Linked DNA regions of Homo sapiens: region 1 is linked to region 2. Evidence: promoter capture Hi-C in human tissues and cell types (Jung and others, 2019). All regions are on one chromosome and are shown on one strand. The core of a region is centred on a gene start or on the middle of the fragment in contact, and the rest is flanking DNA. Distances in the headings are between cores, read along the strand shown. Region 1 has its middle 57 kb from the start of FBN2. Region 2 holds the start of FBN2 (fibrillin 2).

Region 1 (7,146 bases), core at 4,419-6,918, 59 kb after region 2:
AAGTAGTTGCAGTACTGAAAGTAAAATGTAAACGCCTTACATAGATCTTAGAGTAAATAGCATTTACCAATGCAGCATGCAAAATCATAGTTTCTGTATGTTTTTCTCTAATGCTACATAAGAGTGGGAGAAATGCCATCAATGTATCAGATATTCAAAGACAAGGTTAAAGGATTCATTTTCCTGACAGTGAAAATATTCTACTACATGTGTATTAGGTTGGTGCAAAAATAATTGCGGTTTGGCCATTACCTTTAATGCCCAAACCGCAATTACTTTTGCACCAACCTATAAAACACCAGTTTTACACTGTTGTAAAACAAACACTATAAAGACTTTGTATCTTATCTTTGGCCTGATAATTTTGTCACTCTGTGTGGGCATTGAAAACTGTCATATGATATTATTTCAGAGTACTTCACACAAGATTAACAACTGTCATTTATTTGTTGAGACAATACCTGAAACTGAGAATTAACTATTATTTGTTTTCCAGTTAAGATAGCCAGAACAATTAAATCTGAATGATTGTCATTGTTTTTAACAGTGTTTTGTTCAATAGGCCAAATGTGGCAGTATTCTTTGAAAACTAGTTTTATACTAAACTCCAGGGATCTCAGATCTTTTATAAAAACTTCAGCACTCACTGAGTCCCCTAAGAGTGATCAACCTAAGATGTGTAATATGAAACTTCTGTGTGAATTTTTAACTTCCCCCAGATGGGGCAAACCACAGTGTCTTTTAATGCACTGATGGTATCAAAATGCATAAACATCAGATGCAACTGCACTCTCACATTCGATACCAATCTGGTATTATAATAAAGGAATTACAATGTAGGGCACAAAGGAAATCATAGCATATCTTCACTTCCTGCTTACTACGTCTTGACGATTTCATAACAGTCTTTTTCAATCAAAACCCCTTACCAGGATTGAATAATAAGATCATAACAGAGAGATAAGGCAAAAATTAGAATTCGGGAACCCCAATATTAACAACTAATGGATTTCTCATTTACCATTGAACACTTTGACCATTGCTCATTGGCTCATGGGGAATATCACTTTCCTTTTAGTCTCAAATGAAATATAAATAATAAAAATACTTTAGGAAACTTCTTTTCAGGATCTGCTCTTACTTCATATTAACACTCAGGGAAAGATGAATGGAGTTTTAAAACACCTTTTTTCAAAATGTAAAGTTCTAACTGTAAGACTTGACCATAAAAAAGGCCTTCGCAATATTGTGATTGAAATGTTTTTATTTATAATTTCCTAACTTTCATCAATATTTTTTTGTTAAAATGCAAAAAAAAATTGTATGATTTTCCTAAGAACACATCTTGTTTAAAATTTTATAAAAGTAAAATGTAAGACTTAGTAGAGGCATATGGATATACAATATTCCAGACACTTGAAGTTTTCACTTCCTTCCTTATAGTTTCCAAAATGTGGAAAAGAGAAAACTATGTTGTTATACAAATATATACATTAGTAGAATTCCTGTTGCTATAGTATTTCTATAACAATTCCAAGAAAGAACTCCAAACACTTCTTATGACATCTCTTTAATAAATGAGTCCAGAATTCCAAATCTTATTGTGTCTTTTAACTTCCATCACATATATGTTAAGTGTAAATTTATTTAGCATGAATATTATTCTTTCCCTTCCACGTCAGTCAAGCTAAAGCATACAGAATAGTTGACACTTCTAAAATATAGTTTCTCATTTGATATATAGATGAATATACTTGATTCTAAGAAATGTTATCAGAGTGTCAGTAAAAGTAACCATCTTATAAAATGGAATTTGTTGATGCATTCACAAATGTTTGATGTTCTTCAGTTGCACAATAATTTTCCTAACCAGACCTCAGAGAAAACACATAACAGTCACCACAATTTTTTATTTCTACCTAAGATGCAGAAGAATTATCAGAGAAAACAGGTTTGGAGGTCTTTGTATTTTTAGTTCAAATGTGTGTGTCTCTTTAAGGTAGTATATGACTATAGCCCTCCGCTGGAAAAAATATATATATATATGTATATAGGATTAAAATGCAAGGTTGAAGTGTCCAGTCTGTTAGGGGCTTACAAATGTGACTTTTATGATTTCTATAAAAGCAAGAGAAAATAAGGTATTTTCCTGCAGAAAAGTTAAATGTTTGTGTATAAAGCCTACTACACATAACCTCTGGGCTTGGCAGGATGTCATAACTCTCATGATCTGAGCAAGGTTCATTCTTTTCAAAAGTGGTTGATTATTGTTTCTTCTTTTTTTTTTCTTTTTTCTTTTTTTGAGACAGAGTTTTGCTCTTGTTGCCCAGGCTGGAAGTGCAACAGTACCATCTTGGCTCACTGTAACCTCCGCCTCCCGGATTCAAGCGATTCTTCTGCCTCAGCCTCCTGAGTAGCTGGGACAAGCCCAGCTAATTTTTTTTTTTTTTTTTTTTTTTTTTGAGACAGAGTTTCACTCTTGTTGCCCAGGCTGGAGTGCAGTGGTGCGATCTGAGCTCACCGCAACCACCGCTTCCCAGGTTCGAGCAATTCTCCTGCCTCAGCCCCCTGAGTAGCTAGGATTACAGGCAGGCACCACCATGCCCAGCTAATTTTGTATTTTTAGTAGAGATGGAGTTTCTCTATTGGTCAGGCTCGTCCCAAACTCCTGACCTTAGGAGATCCCCCTGCCTTGGCCTCCCAAAGTGCTGGGATTACAGGCGTGAGCCACCGTGCCCGGCCTAATTTTTTGGTAGAGATGGGGTTTCACCATGTTGACCAGGCTGGTCTCGAACTCCTGACCTTAGGAGATCCACCTGCCTCAGCCTCCCAAAGTGCTAGGATTATAGGTATGAGCCACTGCGCCCGGCCAGATTATTGTTTCTCTAGTATCAGATGATAAAGTGCAATTTCAAAATGTAATAGTCCTATTTTCTATATTCAACAATAATTTTTCCTTTTCACTTTGCTTGGCTAATTCTGGCCTATATAAAAGCAAATTTAAGACATTGCTTTAGTACATACATGAAACTTGAAAGCCAAGAGACCAGGAATGAGACTCATTAAAAAACAAACCAAGGAAGTTCTTATTGCCTACAGAGTATGTCTACTTACTGAGAGGGAAAAATCATAATAAAAAAGCATCCAAGTTTATAAATCATTCATTCATTCAGCAGCTATTTATTGCTTACTGAGCACTAACTAACCTGACACTGAAGAGCACACAGTCAACTGCATTGAGGACACCTACAAAAAAGAAAATACAACATAGAGCTTTTATGGAGCTGCATACACAGTGCTAATGTTGGGCAGTCAGAAAGGTTCTGGTGGAGGCAACATCTGAGATAATGTTGGAAGGAGGTGCAGATTTAATCTGGATAATAAGCAGATGGAGAGAAAGACCTTTAAACAAAGTCTCTCCTCTCCCTATGACAAAGCCTCAGGCACAAGAAAATGTGAACATTTTGGGGAAATACAAGTGGAACCTCCAGGCAAGAATCGCCAAAAATTAGATTGTATTAGCAGGACAGGATGGAATTCTGCATGGCGTTGCAGGTGTGTTAAGGTATATGGACTTCTTCCTAAGGCAGCGGGTAGCAACTGAATAATTTTAAGCAGAAGAATGATTTGTTTTTAAAAAGTCGTTTTGGTATACAGTGCAGAATCTGTCAGGTCTAAGAGGGGAGAGGGGCTCAAGCTTCAAGAGGGTTTGAGAGGCTACTGCTCCAATCCTTCCGATGGCGATTTGCCCAAGGGAATGGAGAGTAATGCACAACTTTTGAGAGGATTGGCAAGGAGCAGGAAGGTAGGAATCCAGGTCAATTCTGTATATCTGGCTTGGAGAAATTGGCTGATCGTACTTCCTCTTACTGAGAGAGAACATATAGGAGAAGGCAGGGCTCAGGAGGAACCTCTGAGACAGAGATTACATTTGGGTGCACGCTGCTGTGCTTTAAGCACTGCACCTTCAAAGGAATTCAGTTGAACCTGGCTCAGAGGGGATAGCTGGCCATGAGCAAAGCTTATTTCTGGTGCTGGGTTTAGATTAACAGGAAACTTGAATTATCAACCTCTATAGAAGCCTTTGACTCCATAGGAGAAATTCTCCTTTCATGCTTGGCACTAGTCCATTTGGAACATGGAAAGTTGGAAGAGGAAAAGACAAAACTTCATATGGGTATTGTAAAAGGAAAGGGAATATTTTTTAAGTGACTAAATAAAGAGGAGTTAGTACACCCTGTATCAAAACCCACTTTTATGGATAGTTAGTGAGTTCTAAAGAAAAGATATTTATGTGTAAGTTTGTAAAGTTTTGAGTTTGAGTCTTGACTCACAACAGTGTACACTGATGATTTTTTTTCTCCATTGTCTTGCTAAATGTAATGCTCATTTCTGTGCTATTTTCAAAAATTAATCAACAGTTTAATCAGTCATGCTTAATTTGGGGATTCCATTGGTGGCCACCTCCCTGCACCATCTACTGAATGAATCTATTTGTTTTAGGACATCGATGGCAGAAAAGATTATTTGGGATCCATGAACCTATTTTGTTTACAAAGCTTGTGCTTAGGTAGTTGACGCTATTATCAAACAGAGTGTGCGCTAGAGATGGTGCTTGGCAGGCTTGGGGTCAGGCTTTTCCGGGTCTCAGTTGTAAATCCTGCAATGTTTTTTTCCCCTCCCTTTAGTTCACTTATGGTAGCTTGGGCAGAGTCTGACATATTTCATTCCTGGCTGCAGGCCAAAACAGGCTTTTTAACAAAGCCACGTATTCTTTTCCTACTTTCAGATGGGCTAGCCCCACCAAAGTGGTTGACTTTCTTCTAAAGTAGTGAAAATAGATTTGTCTCACTTGGCTCTTTGCTGTAAGCAAAGGAAAACAATTTTGCCTAATTAGCAAGGGAAAACAATTTTGCTTAATTTAAAGAGAAGGATATAAGTAAGAAACAAGAGGAAGTCAGGAAGTGGGAACACAGGCAAAATCTTGCCTCAAATGCTCTGGTTCAGACACTGCTGCTGGCCCTACCTCCTCAGGTGACAGTGCCAGGATGGTAAAGCCACAACCGCCCACTATCTCTACCCACCCCTGATGCTGAGCACAGTAGCATAAACTGTCCCTTTATCCTTGCATCACTTGATGAAGGTACAAAAGCTGAGAAAAAGAACCAGATGGCGGGGGCGAGGCACCTGTTCATGGGATATGGAGAGGACACACTTGTCTTCCTTTGGCCTTTGTGTGCAAAGGTGGGCTGTGTCTCTCTCCAGGGCTCACACAGTGGGAGATTTCTCCCCAAAAGGAAGAGGTTTGTGCAGCCAACAAATAAGGAATATTCACTACAGTTTACCCTTTTGGCTGACTATATTTGTCCTTCTACACATATTTACATTAAAAAAGTCCTTATCTAACATAATATAATGATCCTTCGTATAACTTACAATACACTCTTTCCCTCCCCCAAGTAAGAAAATCTGAAGTGAGCCAGACTCCAAATCCAGAATCTCTGGGGGATGTCCACTTCTTTGGTTCCGCATAATCCCACTTCAGAATTTGGCTACTGAAAGCACGCATTATATGGTTGATTACTACCACCTACCTCCTCAAGAAAAGGGAATTTAATTAAAATGCGCAAATATAACCATGATTCAACAAGAAAGAAAAATTGGGTAGAGGCTTTAGTCTTTGTTTCTGCAAGTGACCATGAGACTGTCACTGGTATTTATGACTTTATTCCTCCACCAAGCATTTCTGTTTGCTTTGCCCTCTGCTAGCACCTCAGCTGGCTGGGATTCTTTACCCAGTGGGATCACTCAAACCTTCTTCCGGAGGGATCTAAGCTTTTGGTGGTTCTGCCTGAATAGATTGCCAGAGTCTTTGATTAACTTTTAACACTGGGCATGGTAATATGAGAAGGTGTTCTGTTTATTCTCCTCCCTGCCCCCATTGTATAACAGCAATCCAGTTTTTCCTTGAGAATTAGAATCAATCAAACTACGCTAAAACACCATTTTCCCCCTGTCTTCAACATGAAGAGTGTAAAATAGTCCAATAGAAGTCTAAGCTCCATCAAATGCTGAAAACATTCCTCTTTTCTATGATCCCCATGCCAGCAGAGCCTGGAGCTGATGGGATGGAATGCAAAATTTTGCAAGATGTAATTAGCAATTAGGTAATAGCACCATGTTTAATATAGCACCATAGATAATTAAGTGAATAGCACCATATTTCTAGTCCTTTGTTCCTCAACTAATATAATTTGGTTTTGGGAAAAACAGAATTGTTTACTGTTTGCTGGTTAAAGAACAATTACTACATCTACAGAACCAGGCCCTGAATTTTCAAAGTATCTATTGTACATTAGGACTTAAATCCATCTTCAGTAGTGCATTTTACCCTTTTTTCTTTCTTTCTTTCTTTTTTTTTTTTTTTTTTTGAGACCGTGTCTCACTCTGTCGCCTAGGCTGGAGTGCAGTGGCATGATCTCAGCTCACTGCAACCTCCGCCTCCTGGGTTCAAGTGATTCTCCTGTCTCAGCCTTCCGAATAGCTGGGACTACTGGTGTGTGCCACCATGCCCAGCTAATTTTTTGTATTTTTAGTAGAGATGGGGTTTCACCGTGTTAGCCAGGATGGTCTCGATCTCCTGACCTCGTGATCTGCCAGCCTCGGCCTCCCAAAGTGCTGGGATTACAGGCATGAGCCGCCGCGCCCAGCACATTTTACGCTTTTATAAGATGATTGACTCTAGATGAGGGTCCTATGATAAGACTGGCTATTTCTAAAGTAAAGTGAATTCTTTGGCTGGGAGAAATGTTGTGTAGTGTGCCAATACTTGGTTTCCCTTGAAGTGGACAAAATGCCCACTAGAGTTCATTCTGGGGATAATGCTGGAGAGCACTCGAATCCTGCGTTCTTAGGAATTAGTGTTGCCTCACAGATTGTGTCTTATCTTTTCTCTAAATGTTTGATATTTTTCTTTCTTTATAACACAATTAACTTAGTAAATGCCAAAAGTCACACAGCTAGTAAATGTTACAGCCAGACTTTGAATCCAGTATTCTGACTGCAAAATAAAAGCTCTTGTCTCTATGCAATGCATCTCTTCTCTACACCAGTGATTTTATTGTCCTTTGTGGTCATTAGGCTTTT
Region 2 (6,765 bases), core at 922-3,421:
GAAAAAGTGGTTTTGAGTTATCTAGATAATTGCTCTACTCCTCCCCTCTTCCAATTTGTATTAATAGACATAGAAAGATAAAACTTTCAATTATCTTTGAAATCTTTATCATTATTGCCCTTCAACAGAGTCTAGAAGTGAAGTCTGAACTGACTCAAACCGGTTGAGTCTTCCCCACTATTCAAATGGGGCCGCGTCCCGATTATCAGTGCAATGTGATCACTTGATTTTAAACGCAACTATGCGTCCAAATGGCTGAGTGCAAGAGGTCGGCCGGAGATAGGGCCGAGTGCGCTGCCCCAAGCTGCGATCCCTGCCAAGCACTCACGGACAATGCACTGGTTTCCTCCAGGGAGCGTCTTCCATCCAGGGCAGCAGTAGGAGTGGAATCTGGAGCCGCACACGTTGGGCCTGTGATGGACAAGCGCGGTCACGTAACAGATAGGTAGAGGGATGCAGCAACATATAAACGGTCTTCGTAAGCAATGCCCCGAGCGAGTAGATTTCAGGACAACAAACAAATCAAAATTACACTTCAAATTATTGGAGATCGGGAGGCAGACGTGGAAGCAAAAGAGCTAGATGCTGGAATGCAGGAGGGTCAGAAATGTCTAAACACTGCCTTTCATCTGTCGTCCCTTGCCTGCCTTTTTAAAGGGCGAAAAGAGGCATGGAAACATATAATTTGCTACTATTCTAGCTTCCAGATGCAGAGAACAAAGGGACCATTCCGTTCCAAAGAATCCTTGCCCTCCTTCCCAAATCCATTCCTCCTTGGTCAACTGTTACTTTGGCCCCGACGTGTCAAGGAAAGCGCGTCGCAAGGTGGAGCGCTCGGGTTGACGATGAGAAGGTGAGCTGTGAACCCTGCACACGTCCTCAAACAAAAGGCTCACGAGCGGCGGCCCCGACGTGGGGAGCAAGCAGGCTTCTCTGGCCCCTGCAGCAGGCGGACCCAGGCCCGCCTGCCGCCGGACATTCAGAACCTGTTCCCGCAGCGCGAGCTCTGCACACGCTCTGCGATCGGCACCCCTGGACCCCCTAACCACCCGCCGCCCAACCCCCGGAGAGAGGGCTTTCCGCCCGCTGAGCTGCGGGGTTGGGAAGGAAAAGGGGGACGCGCTCCTGGGGGTCTTTGGATATTCTGGCAAAGGGGGCTGCAGCTCTAGGCTCCAGCTAAAGGGTCTGGGACGGAGTGGGCCAGAAAGCCGCCAAACTGAGGATTCCCCCCTCCCCCAAGCCGGAGCCCTAGGTGCGGAGCCGCTTGCCCACTTACCCTCGGAGCACGTCCTGCTGTCCTCGCCGGCGGACGCGGCTGGCCACTGCGGCACCCTCCTCGCGATACTCGGGCGCTAGAAACCCGCCTTCAGAGCCTGCTGTAGCGGACCGAACCTGTTGCGGCGGCGGCTGGGGCCGGGGCGGCTTGGGCGGAGGAGGCTGAGGCTGGCCGGCCGTGCCCTGCGCCCAGAGCACCACACAGCCCAGCCACAGGAAGTAGAGCTGGAGACACAGCCTCCGTCTTCTCCCCATCGCCGGCGCCGAAAGCGCGCGGCCGTAGACCCGCGGAGAGGGAGTGATCAAAGACAAAATCTGCGCGCCTCAGAAAAGAGTCAGGGTCTAATAAGCCCTTCGTCGGCTCCGGGGACTCCCTCGGGCTCGGGCTCCCTGCTCTAGCTGGAGACCTCGACAGAGCGCCGGCCCCCTGACTGCCCGCGAAGCGAGACGCGGGGCGCCGGGTCTAGCGCAGTGAGCGGCGAGGCGCGGCGGAGGTGCAGCCGGCAGCCCCGAGCGGTACACGTTGCATAACCGGCCTAAAGCCCCGAGCGACTCCAGGACCGTCAGCGGGCGGGGGAGGAAATTACAAAAGCCCTGGCGTAAAATTTCAAAAAATGTGAACCTCAAAAGAAAAAAGGGCCTGCACGCAGAGCTCGGCGGATTCCCGTGCGCTCCGAAGACGGATATTGGAAAGCTGCAAAAGTCACCAGAAAGAAACAGGCAAGCAAACAAAAGTCGCCCCCAGAAGAAGAGGAGGGTTCCCTCCGGGCTCGCTCGGAGTCCCACAGGGCAACGAAGCGCGGGTAGCGGCTGCGGAGCCGGGCGGAGGTGCGCGGGGCCGGGGCGTGCGGCCAGCAAGAGAGAGGGCGGGAGGCTGGGCGCTGGAGAAGATGCGGCGGTGGAGGGCGCGGCGCGGGGGTTTTAGAGGCCCGGCGGGGCGCGGGGCGGGCCGGCGGGCGGCGGCTGTCAGTGGGGGCGCGGCCGTCCACACGTGGGGCTCAACCCGGACTGAGAGGCCGGCGCAGAGTGGGCGGGGACAGAGTAAGGGAGAGATCGGGACTGAGGAACGAGGGGAACCAGGGTTGGGTGAGGGGAAGAGGAAGGAAGGGGGGGAGGGCGAAGGGAGGGAAGAGGACGGAGATTGGGGAGAAGGGGGGCGAACCCGAGAGGAAGGCCGGGCTGGAAGAGGGACTTGGAAAGAGGGATTGGCGAGCCCGGGTGCGAGAGGAAATGAGCGGGGGATGGGGGCGAAGTTAGGGCAAAGAGAGAAGTGGGAAAGGAGAGGGAGGGCCAAGGTCCGGGCGCCGAGAGGAGGGGCCCGGGGGGCCGGCTGGAGGGGGCGAGGCGCTAGGCGGCTTTGCTTCCCGTCCCCGTCAATTGGCCGCTAGCTCTGTTTTGACTGCCTGTACAAAGCGAGTAGACGGCGGGGGATGGGGCGATTAGGGACCGGATTTGGGAAAGGAGGCAGCAGCCCCTTCCCCTCCCCCTCCGTCCTCGCCCGGCCGCGGACCAGGGACTAGGGTGCCTAAGCGCGCCAGGCTTGGCCGGACCCGCAGCTGAACTGACCCGCAGCTGAACTTCCCCGCCGGACAGAGGCCGCAAGGTTGAGGATGAGAACGGGTCTTTCTGTAGGGTCCCGGCCCCTGACCTGGGATGGGGGGATTCGCAGTCAGCCAGGAATAGAGGCTCACGGGGCTGTTGGTTGCAGCCTCAATCCAAGAAGGAGGAGACCTCCCCTTTGCCCTCCTACCCCCACCGCCCCACCGGGAGCGGCGTCAGTCTGCGGGACCAAATTAGGGGCTGGGAGTTTCCAGATTGAAATGCGCCCTCCACCACCAAGAGGGAGCTCACGCGGCCGCGGGGGGCCGAGGCAGCCAGCCGGCGCCGCGGTCCTGGGGAGTCCGTGCAGGGGTGTGCTCTGGTGTGAAACCTGGCAGGACTCTGCCTGGGCTTGCATGCAGGGAGGGGTTAGAGACTCTGAAATGTACTAGCGGGCAGGGTGGTGACAAGGCGGGTAAATGAGGCTCGGGGCATGCCCTTGCTTCCTGGCTTGGACCCCTTCTGATTGATTAAATCCTAGCAATTGGTGCAACCCTCTGTACCTCTTAGAGTGCCTCTCACCGGCCTGCTCTGGGTTCTTCCTTTGTGGCCCTCCTTTCATGAAATCTCTGTGAAGTCCTGGTCATTTCTCATTTAGTGGAATATCACAATTTAAAAATCAAACACTCCTGAAAACAAGGAGAGACCATCCAAGCACAGTTTGCGAAACAGTACAAAAGAGCAGTGTCTGGTTTATTCAAGCCTAGAAAACCTTAGTTTAAAGGGGAAAATGTTGAATATGTATAGGAGGGTGTGTGTGTGTGTGTGTGTGTATATATATACACGTACATATATACATATATACACATAACATATATATGATATATATCATATATCATATATATCATATATCATATATATGATATCATATATATGATAGATCATATATGATATATCATATATATGATAGATCATATATATCATATATATGATATATGATATATGATATATATGATAGATCATATATGATCTATCATATATATCATATATCATATATATCATATATATCATATATATCATATATATCATATATATCATATATCATATATATCATATATATCGTATATATCATATATCGTATATATCATATATATCATATATCATATATATCGTATATATCATATATCATATATATCATATATCATATATATATCATATATCATATATATGTATTTCTGGCCCAAATTGCCCAGATGTGCTATTTGACAGCCAAAATTCTCCAGTAATTGGCACAACTCCCTCCTTTATTTCTCCATGTAGTCAAAGGGTCTGAAGGTAGTACCCCTTGTTACAGTATTCTCATAAAGCAGAAGAAAAGATAAGAGTTACATAATTTCATGTGAGACACCGATTTGTTAAAATCCAGAGAAAGAGCAATACAGTTATTTTCACGTACTTCGCTTCAAATAATAAAATTATTTAAACTAAAAGAGCTAACTAATGTAACTATCTCCTGGTTTAAAGCAGTGTTTTAGTCATACCATTTAAAACATCCTGTATCTGCTTTTTTTGTTGTTGTTGCTGTTGTTTAATACTTACGTGGCTTCATGGTTCATTCCTGTCCATCACATTAAATCTAAATGCTCTAGAATTGCCTATGCCTTTACCCTTTGATCCAGCAATTCCACTTTTAGGAACCTATATAAAAGATACATAGACAAAAAAAAATGAAATGGTGCATACATTTGACTGTTCTTTGCAGCACTGTTTATAATAGTGAAAGACTAGAAACACAAACTTCCCATGAACAAGCAACTGTTGTGTATGACTTCATCTATTCAGTGAAGTATTATGCAGCTGTCAAATATGAATGAAGAGAAACTCTGTATGCTCTTAGAGAGTGATCTCTAGCATATACAGTCTACTAAAATAAAAAAAAAGCAAGGTACAGATAGACTAGGCAGTTCATTGAGACAAAGTAGAATAAAGGTTACCAGGAGCTCCAGGAAAATGGGAAGGATGAGTTATTGTTTAGTGAGTACAAAGTGGTCTGCCTAGGATGATGAAAAAGTTAGAAATGGATAATGGTGACGGTGGTCCAACATTGTGCATGTACTTAATGCTACTGAATTGCACGCTTAAAAATGATTAAAATGGTAAATTTTATGTTATGTCTATTTTTTACAATATTTTTTAAATGAAAGCTGTATAATATTGTATGCTACTTTTTAGGGGTATGAGTGTGTTATAGATTTAACAACAAACAAGAAGTATAAACTAAATCTAATAAAAAATGGTTATCTGTAGAGAAAGGGGAGACTATGAGGAAAGAAACAATGGTGGAAGCTAAACCTTTCTAAATAAACTTAGTTTTATAGTTCTGGCTTTGGAACTATGTTCCAAAGACCTAGAAATAGTGACAACCCAAAAACCATAAGGTCATTGTGACCAGATTGTGGTTCCTAAATACCATTTCTAAATTAAAGGAATCAGGGTTCCTTGGGTGAGTGGCAGATTCTAAGTCTGGGAAAGGAAATGCATAAAGTGAATCTGGACTATCTGTCTTGTCATGCCTGAAAGCAAGAAATTATCTGACTATTAAGGTCATGTCAAAAGGAAACCTGAGCTAAGTTGAAAGAGATCTTGCTGGTTAAGGATGGGGAAACTTGAGCATCAAAAAGAAAAAAGAAATGACAGCAAAAGATTGAAATACATGAAGTGTGTCAGTATTCAAGATTTCCGAATGATACTCCAAACAAAAATTAGTTGGCCACTTTTGGAGGTTGTTAGGGCACAGCTCACTATTCTAAACGCATCGATAAATAAAATTATTAACCAGTTATTCTTCCTTTGCTAGAAAGACCCAGAGAAAGTATTTCTTTTGAAAAAAAAAAAAAACCACAGTTGTAAATGCAGGAATGATGGAATTAGAAAAATCACTACTTGTAAACCCTAATAAAATAATGGACCTAGGCAACGGTTTTTAACAACTGCTAAAACCATTAGGTAAGAAGTGTTCAACTTGTGGCCATTTTTCCTCAGGGTATATTTGGCAGTAATTGGAGACATTTTTTATTGTCACAACAAGACAGTGTGTGGGAGTGGTGATGAGAGTATCAGAGATGCTGCTAAACATTCTACGATGTACAGGCCAGTCTCCCATAGCAAAGCATTATCTGGTCCAAAATACAAATTTACTTGGGAAGCCGTGCATCAAAAAGTCAATTGGGAACTTTTTAGTGAATGTGTCAAGCTGTTACCACCAGAACCTACTGATTAATTATTAACTTATGAAAAGTAAGACAACCAGACATTATGTTTTTATTTTTATGGTGCAATAGGAGGTACACAGACCACCTATGAAATATCTTTGTCAAAAAAACTGAGCCTGAATGTAACCATATCTCTACATTTAACTCCCAGTTTCCAAGAACAATAGAGGACCATGAAACATATTAAATGATACCTTGAGAATATAGGTAACCAGATCTAGAATGGGATATACCACAAGACCAAGTTCTTCAAATAAATGACATCAGTAGAGAAGAGGGAGGGGAACTGTTATGGCACAACCACCAAAAGCAATGCTTGCCCCTTATCTGGGATTTTGATATGAATGTTAGTGAAAAATAACATTTTTGATGCTATCATCCAGTCTAGTAAGTCTTATTTATATGGTTGCAGCTACAGTCAATATATAACTGCAACTGCGTGAGACACCCCAAGTAAGAACTACCCAGGCAAACTCTTCTGAGTTCCTGACCCATAAAAGGCTAAGGCAAAATAAATTTTTTAAACCTATAACTTTAGGGGTAATTTGTTATGTAGTGATAGAACACTGAACTGAACACTGGTTACTAGATATTAAATATTTATTTTTAATTTTGGGAGATGTGACAATGGAATCATTGTTATATTTTTAATATACTGGCTAATGTTATACTTACTAAA

What was found. Contacts are between HindIII fragments. The study calls those that stand out against the background at their distance.
Region 1: a contact is called between a fragment that was not itself captured here and the fragment with the promoter of FBN2 in region 2, in 3 of the 25 tissues and cell types used here (H1 embryonic stem cells, mesendoderm cells and spleen).

The regions. Positions count from the first base shown.
Region 1 is chr5:128,591,537-128,598,682 of GRCh38, forward strand. No RefSeq gene overlaps it. Among named protein-coding and RNA genes, the nearest start is that of FBN2, 57 kb to the left of the region's middle. The HindIII fragment of the contact is 3,618 bases long and covers 3,860-7,146 here.
Region 2 is chr5:128,536,074-128,542,838 of GRCh38, forward strand. FBN2 (fibrillin 2) reads right to left here and starts at 2,172. Exons shown (of 65, transcript NM_001999.4): 1 at 1,277-2,172; 2 at 329-411. The coding sequence starts at 1,530. RefSeq lists enhancers at 1-772, 2,498-2,998. The HindIII fragment of the contact is 18,659 bases long and covers 1-6,765 here.